2 separate regions of the Homo sapiens genome follow, and region 1 is linked to region 2. The links are contacts of gene promoters, found by promoter capture Hi-C in blood cells and fetal thymus (Javierre and others, 2016). All regions are on one chromosome and are shown on one strand. The core of a region is centred on a gene start or on the middle of the fragment in contact, and the rest is flanking DNA. Distances in the headings are between cores, read along the strand shown. Region 1 has its middle 21 kb from the start of GHSR. Region 2 holds the start of NCEH1 (neutral cholesterol ester hydrolase 1).

What was found. The method cuts DNA at HindIII sites, captures the fragments that hold promoters and counts their contacts. A CHiCAGO score of 5 or more calls a contact.
Region 1: a fragment that was not itself captured here is called in contact with the fragment with the promoter of NCEH1 in region 2 in 1 of 17 cell types (total B cells); the score reaches 6.4 in total B cells.

What each region holds. Positions count from the first base shown.
Region 1 is chr3:172,466,899-172,471,173 of GRCh38, reverse strand. No RefSeq gene overlaps it. Among named protein-coding and RNA genes, the nearest start is that of GHSR, 21 kb to the right of the region's middle. RefSeq lists a silencer at 3,649-3,849. The HindIII fragment of the contact is 2,891 bases long and covers 707-3,597 here.
Region 2 is chr3:172,708,829-172,713,005 of GRCh38, reverse strand. It overlaps NCEH1 (neutral cholesterol ester hydrolase 1), which reads left to right and starts at 1,939. Exons shown (of 5, transcript NM_020792.6): 1 at 1,939-2,159. The coding sequence starts at 2,022. RefSeq lists enhancers at 1,489-1,628, 1,673-1,967, 1,889-2,158, 1,288-2,487. The HindIII fragment of the contact is 17,687 bases long and covers 1-3,820 here.

The DNA.
Region 1 (4,275 bases), core at 903-3,402, 240 kb after region 2:
TAAGAATTTTTCACATTCTTATGTTGATTTCTGAACATGACTGATATTTATGTTCTCTGTATCATAGACAGCAAGTCAGGAGGGAGGGTCAGATGACCTTTGATAGTGCCGTCTTAATTGCTAGTAATTGCTAGGAATCCTCTTTTATGTTTTAAGTGTTTTATGTTCTTCACAGAATTATTGGTAGAATCAAAGAAATAATATATGTGAGAGTTTTTAAAACCTACATTACATAAATGTTCACTGTGTATTATTCATAGTGAATGGTGAATGTATTATTGAGGAGTACTTTTTTTTCCTGTAGAGCTTTGAATGGGCAAGGAACTTGGAGATAAGAAAAGCAGTAACTAGCTTATTATGGCAATTTTGTAGTACTTTCAGTGACATATTTTGAGGTGAGTGACATATTCATGACAGGGATATTAGAGAAAGCCTAGTCACTTCCTCCCTTCTCTATTTAAAATTTTCATTTAAATTTTTTGAACACAATAGACAAGAGAATACGATGCATAATGGATGTGGACTAATGGAAGAGTCAAAAGTCTATATGAGTTCATCTTCCTCTCCCATGTAATACTGACACAAACTTCAAAAAGAAAATTAGTATAAACATTACTTGTATTTGGAGGTGAATATTGACTTCATTAGGAAGATTATACCTAAGTCCTCTCTTTCATTATTCTGCTAATCCTTTCCAGAAGAAGCTTTCCTTAAAAAAATATAGGGCAAGAGAATTGATACTTTTACATAATCTTGGTAAGAATGAATTATTCTTTTTAACTCTAAAAGTTCACAATTTTTTGTGCCATTCTGCAGAATGTTTCACTTAAAAACTAAACTAAATAAATATAAAAATATACCATATTTTCTTTAATTTTCCATGAATTACCACTAAAAGAAATGTTGACAATTTGTCATTCCTTGGGATATTATAGAGACAAAGATTTTCTGTATTCTTTATACTAATGTGATAATAATTATTATTATCATTCTTTGTAGTAATTCAATAAAAAGTTATAATCACCACATTTGGAAGGCTCTAAAATGTGTCCAAACAAAAGAGAATAAAAACAAGAATTTTATTTTTAATGATACAAGAGGGAAAAAAACAGAGCATCCAAGGTTTTTGTGTGCGTGTGTGTGTGTGTTTGTTTTGTTTTTGTTTTTGTTTTTTTTAGTTTAAGTTCTAGAATACATGTGCAGAACGTACAGGTTTGTTACATAGGTATACATGTGCCGTGGTGGTTTGCGGCACCTATCAACCTATCACCCAGGTTTTAAGCCCCGCATGCATTAGTTATTTGTCTGAGCATCAGAGGTTTTTTTGTTTTTTTGGGTTTTTTTTTTGAGATGGAGTCTCTCTCTGTCACCCAGGCTGGAGTGCAGTGGCACAATCTCAGCTCACTGCAACCTCCACCTCCTGGGTTCAAGTGATTTCCCTGCCTCAGCTGGGATTACAGGCATGCGCCACCATGCCCAGGTAATTTTTTTAGTAGAGACAATGTTTCACCATATTGGCCAGGCTGGTCTTGAATTCCTGACCTCAAGTGATCTGCCCACCTTGGCCTCCCAAAGTGCTGGGGTTACAGGTGTAAGCCACCACACCTGGCTGCATCAGAGGTTTTTAAACAAACTTTGAATATTTTCCACATGTGAAGATGAAGTGATAAGGGCAAAATTGTTTTCTGTAAAACTGGTTCTCATGTTTTGCTTTGATAATTAAAGAATCCTAAATTAAATAACAACAAACTGCCTGAAAATCTGATAACAAAAACTCAAAATTATCTTGTGATAATTTTTCTAAATTTATTAGAAGGTCTGATGATCTTACTACAATCCCTGGTGCCAATTTTAAAGTGATTGATTTAGTAGACTGTAATATAAAGTATAGGCAAATTCTAATTTGCCTGAGGTGTATAAAACATTCTGACTTATTCATTAGGCTTGCCTAATATTTTAAGACGATATCCATGCAGTCTTCATAGAGTCCATAAAATAATTTACCAGTACACAGTCTATATATACTACCTCAGAGAGAGATCAGTGCAGCAGAAACATCATGCTGTTTCTTTTCCTTTTTCTTTTCTTTTTTTTTTTTTTTGAGACTGAGTCTCGCTCTGTCGCCCAGGCTGGAGTGCAGTGGCGCGATTTCGGCTCACGGCAAGCTCCTCCTCCCGGGTTCACGCCTTTCTCCTGCCTCAGCCTCCCGAGTATCTGGGACTACAGGCGCCCGCCAACACGCCTGTTTCTTCTTAACCTGTATAGACAAGTGAGGAACCCAGATGCAATTTGCCCACAGCAACTTATCAGTGAATGTTCCAGTTGGTAGGGTTCCAGTGGCATTGAACAGAACATTGAACTCAGTTGGCGTAGAAAGATAGCATAAAAAGCCTAAGGTAACATGATTCTGGGCTTAGTTAAGTCATTGGCACCTGCCCATCATTTAGGACCCAGGTTCTCTTCATTCTTCTGCTGTGCTTTGCTCATCATGTTAGCTTTTGACTCTGGCTTGCAGGATGGCTGCAGCAGCTTCAAGTACTTTACAACAGAAAAAATCTCTCTTGTATCCCCTTTTAAGACAGAAAAACTCTCCCCTAGTCACTGTTCAGAATTCTAGACATGCCCATTCTTAAATCATTCACTGGTAGGGAAAATAGAATTTCTATGTTGGACTTAGATTAATGAAGATTATCCTCCCTAGAGCTAGGGGAAGGTTCAGTCTTTTCTAAAGTATGCAGTATCCTGATAGCTGAACAAAATCAAGGTTCTGATTGCAGGAAAGACGAGTGGACAGAATGGCTGCAGGATAGGTGGTCACTAATGTCTGCTATGTTGAGTCAGAGGAAGAGCCTAAAAAGAATTGGTTCCAAAAGCAGGGCTGGGGCGGCCGGGAGCAGTGACTCACACCTGTAATCCCAGCACTTTGGGGAGCCGAGGGGGGCGGATCACGAGGTCAGGAGATTAAGACCATCCTGGCTAACCCGGTGAAACCCCGTCTCTACTAAAAAATACAAAAAATCAGCCGGGCGTCGTGGTGGGCGCCGGTAGTCTCAGCTACTCGGGAGGCTGAGGCAGGAGAACGGCGTGAACCTGGGAGGAGGAGCTTGCAGTGAGCCGAAATCGCGCCACTGCACTCCAGCCTGGGCGACAGAGTGAGACTCTGTCTCAAAAAAAAAAAAAAAAAAAAAAATGCAGGGCTGGGGCTTCCAGGGTATTTATTCTGGGGTAAGAGCATGAATATTAAAAAATAACTGGGCAATGCTATTCCCTTTTTCCTGATTTGAAATGGCAGCCTCAACACCTGACGATTTTTCAGGGAAGGGTAAAATACCATGATGATGTCTCTTAAAAGAAACAAGAAATTCCCTACATGGAGGTACCAGTGGTTTGGTATATTTGTAACTAAAATAAATTTGGGGAGATATAAAATTGAATCAATTAGGACACTTTCAGCTTCAGTTCACAGAAACCTCATTTCTGATGGGGTTACACAGTAAGAAAAGAGATCCTTCACGGGAAGTCCAAAGGCAGGGCATGATCCATGGTTGGTCGATTTGGCTCTTTCCATCTTTTGGTTCTACCTTCCTTAGTTAAGCTTCATCCTCAGGCTGGTGGCTGTAGTGATTTCAGATATCACACAGCCATTCCAGGCAGTGGCCAGGGGCAGACCAGCAGCTGCTTATTAAGAGTGGGAGGAATTTTCCCAGATGTCCTCAGTATACCTCCTCTCCATACTGGCCAGAGGTGAGTCATAGTTCATTCTTGAGTCAATCACTGACAGGAAGATTGGCTTAGTAAACATCTAGGGTGTGAGAATTCTTATTGTAGGTTTGTTTTCACTGTGATTGGAAAAACCAATTTTCTCTTACCTCTGTAATTCTAGCTAATCTAAGCTAATCTAAATCAGAGGTCAGCAAACAAATCTGACTCATCACAAGTTTTGGTAAGTAAAGTTTTATTGGAACACAGCTGCATCCAATGAGGTTTTAGGCAGGGGAATGTCTGGATTAGATTTGTATTTCCCAAAGATCACTGGCTGCAGGTGGCAAATAGATTGTGGAACAACAGTGGACAGAGAGAGATCAGTCCCTTGGGTATTGTAGCAGTTCTAGTGGGGGATTTGGAGGCATTGGTGGTAGAGATGGTGAAAAGTAACTAGAACCCTATGTGAACTGACTGGCTTTCCATGAAACATTTAAACTACCTTCAAGAAGCTTATAATGTAATAGAAGAGGTGACTCACAAGTATAAAATCACAGAAACAGTGTATAATTG
Region 2 (4,177 bases), core at 690-3,189:
TCCCAGCTACTCGGGAGGCTGAGGCAGAATGGCTTGAACCCGGGAGGCAGAGGTTGCAGTGAGCCAAGATTGCACCATTGCACTCCAGCCTGGGTGACAAGAGCGATGCTCTATCTCAAAAAAAAAAAGAATAGCTTCTAATTTTCTACACATATACTCACACACAAACATAAACATAAACATTCCTATCTGTTTAGAGTTATGAGTTTAACCAGTAACTTAAAAGACAGAGAGAGAGAGAGAGAGAGAGAGAGAGAGAGAGAGAGAGAGAGAGAGAGGCCAGGTGCCGTGGATCATGCCTGTAATCCCAGCACTTTGGGAGACTGAGGTGGGCAGATCACAAGGTCAGGAGTTTGAGACCAGCCTGGCCAGCATGGTGAAACCCCATCTCTACTAAAAATACAAAAATCAGCCAGGTGTGGTGGTGGGCACCTGTAATCCCACCTACTGAGGAGGCTGAGGCAAGAGAATTGCTTGAACCCAGGAGGTGGAGGTTGCAGTGAGCTGAGATCGTGCCATTGCACTCTAGCCTGGGCGAAAAGAGCAAGACTCCGTCTCAAAAAAAACAAAAAACAAACACCAAAAACAAACAAAACAAAAAAAAAAGAGAGAGAGAACTTGCTTGAAATACCATGAAAGTGTGCCCTTCTTATCAGTTTTCCTTCAATGTTGAAGAAGAAGCCAACTGTTTCCTAAAAATCTCATTATCAGAACCAAATTTATGGTTATTTCACTTCTATTAATTTGATTAAATTAAAATTACCATCTTAAGATGCATAATTATATATACTAGGTGTTTTAAGACCTTCATCAATAAGTTTGGAGTTGTCATCCTACCACTTTCTTGAAACAGGTCTTCTAACTGTTTTCCTTCTGGATTTCTGGTTGAAATTTTGCTAGTGAAGTTTTCTCTCTCCCATTCAGTACTCACCCACCCCTCCTCACCCCCAATCATTAACAAGAAATCTGGGTTTAAGTGTATTTCTGCTACCATTGACTCACTGAAAGAATTTTTCAGGTGATATCCACACGTTTCTCCAATAAAAAGTTATTATTTTTTCCCTTTGTAGTAATTTGTGGAGAGATCTTCTGATGAAGGACCAAAATTCTGTGTCAAATTTTTACCCTCTAGTTTTAGCATTCATTTATGATTTTCTATGGATACTAGCTGGCATTCTATTTTAAGAAAAGCCTTTCTTCTTTCCTCATTTATTTATATTAATATAGATTGTTGAGTTTTATTTTAATCAATGGGTTATCCATTATGATGATTTATATTGATGGTAAAATTATCCCAGCTTCAGCCACTGGGAGACCCTTCAAGCTGGCAGCTGTGGACCTTTGACCAGTTCCTATCATTTTTTGAGCACTTCCGCATCTCTGGCACAACAGGTTCATCTTGTACTTTACAGCCCCAGCCCTGGTATCAGCCTTTTCTCCAGAGGTTGTGTCAAAAAGCCGTGGTTCCTCTTATTGGAGCATAGGATTTAGAAACCAAGACTTGGGTGCTAGATGTACTACTGGCCTTTCATTGCTTGAGCCAGAAGAATTTAATATCTTCTTTTGCCATATATCAGCTAGAACTTACAAACCACTCCAAGTCTGGCTCCAGAAAACAGAATTTTTATATCCTTTCTCAGTACTCTGAGTCAGAATGACCCACTTGCTTTGTCCAGAGACTCGTCACACTGAAACTATTTTCCGTTTGAGACCTTCCAGGAGGAAAGCCATCCTCACACGCATGCAGTACAAACCAGTGTCCTCCAGAGTCCGCTGTGCCTACGGCCAGAGCAGCGACAGAGCCTTCCTCAAACCTGTAGTGACTGCCACACTTTGCAAGGACACCGTAGAGGGGGCATGTCCGCGCTCCAACTTCCTCCCGACGCAGCCTCTGATTGGCTCCTGGGCTTATAAGAAACGCGTGAATGAGCAGCTGCCGCGGGCAGAAAGTTGCCGGAGGTCTCCGGGTGGTATCGCCCTTTCCTCTTTGCCAGCCCGCTGGCGAGCCGAGCCAGGGCAAGATGAGGTCGTCCTGTGTCCTGCTCACCGCCCTGGTGGCGCTGGCCGCCTATTACGTCTACATCCCGCTGCCTGGCTCCGTGTCCGACCCCTGGAAGCTGATGCTGCTGGACGCCACTTTCCGGGGTGCACAGCAAGTGGTGAGGTGCAGCCCAGCGCTGCTTCTCTCTTCCTCCTCTTACGCAATATTTGAAGGGGATACAAAATTCCTCCGCCGGGTTCCACGAAAACGCAGGTTTTTCCTAATGCATTGAGGCTGTCGCTTTTTGAGGTGGTCCAGTCGGGAATTTTCAGGGTATCGCATTCGCCTCCTTGCTAGCAGCGGGCTAGATCTGCATTTCCCCGTCTGCGTTTGTGACGGGGAAGAAGTGCTTGAATAGAATTTGACAACTGTTTAAACCTTCGTCTGTCCTAAATATCTTCCTCTTCCTTGGTTTGCAACGTCAAAAGGCAAATCCTTAAGCAGTTTATAAACCACCCTTCTTCACACTGTCGTTCTCCCATAGGGACCGGCAGAGGATAAATATTTTTAGGAGAGCTCGGGAAAAGCAGGCTCTGGTTCCTGGGAATGCAGCCACCTTAGAAGCAGAAGCAGGCAAGGGCAGTCTCGCAATGTCCCCAGGCTGTGGAGCGCTCCGTTCCCGGAGACAGCAGGCAGGGCTCTCCATCCAAGCACTTGAGGAACCATAGGGATCTCTCGTTTCACCCGAGGCAGATCTCAGCTCAGCCCAAGAAAGAGGACTGGGAGGCTGGGCTGGCTGAAAGGAGGTGAGGAGGCGGCAGCCCTGGTTTGCATGATGCATGTTTTCTGCTTGCCCTGCAGCATTTATTTTATGTCCTTGGCTGTCAGATAACCTTTTCCTGAGCGAGGTTACCTGCCTTAACCTGGGAGGGTAACATTTCTCTCCACTGTATCATGGGCGTGTGTTCATTCCTTCCATACACAGGAAAATATAACTGTCTCTGGTTTATTCCATGGTAAGAGGCATTATTTTTAGTGTCAGAGAATCTAAAATCTAAACTACAGTCTGCAGCCAAGGCTGAGCCCTCTGATTGGACAGTATTTCTGAGCAGCCTGCTCTATCTAAACTCTAACCTTCTCCAAAACCAAGCCTCCTCCCTCCCCACAACCTTGGGCTTTAATCTCAGAATATTTTTATAAACTCTTTCTTTCAGAAATGACAACTAGAGAAAGAGAAAAAAAATCATTTCAACCTGAGAAAGCTGATTTTAAAAAAGTCATGATTTTCCCAGAGGGTTTATGTTCCTGTTCCCTGTCCACTCATTATGTGTAGGATTACATAATCTGTGGGGCTTTATCCTATGAAAAGTCCCCTTACTAGGATATTGCAGCACATTCCTAGCGTGGATTTGCTTTTCCTGAATTCAGCCACATTCTCACCTCCAAAGCCCCTTTTGTCTCTTAGGAAAGGTCTATGAAGCTATAGACCCCTGCCCCCCTTCTTTTCCTCTTGCTTCCTATAATGTTGACATGGTGAAAATGATCATCCCCTTCTTTAGCACTGGTGTCAAGAAAGTCAGTCTTGTTGTAGGAAGCCTTGCATTCCCTCTCCTCCCCCATGAAATTATGTAATTTGAAAGTAATACCCTTCAAAGATTGAGGAACAGTGATGTTTACCTGGGTGGGTTAATGGTCTACTACAATAACTTAAACAGAGGAAAACAGGAAAAAGATCAAACTGCTGTGTTGGCTGCAGAGATTATTCTTAGTTTTCAGGTCACCAAAGAAGTCTTCTCCATCATAAGTTAATCTCGGACAAGCTAGGTTTGGAGAAAAGCTTTTCTTTCCCAGCTAGGCTTGCCAGCCCATTAAGGACAAGGCTGTGTAAGGTCCTCCACAGAGTATACCCTCAGGTGGTGCTTGGGAATGATAGTGGGTGTAACCTGAAGTCAGCAATAGATGAGGTAACCAGTGTTCTCACCTGACACTGTGGCTCAGGAGTGGATTTGCAGAAAAATGGCTCTTATCACTTCTCCTCTAAATTGTGAAATATCAGAAAGATCATTATGATCAGATGGAAACATATTCTACCCAATAAAGCAATTTTCCAGTGTCACCTCAAATCTTCCTGAGTTTTCCCTGTAAAATAGGGCAAAAAACTACCTTGTAGGTTTGCTATAAGGTTTAGTAATGTAT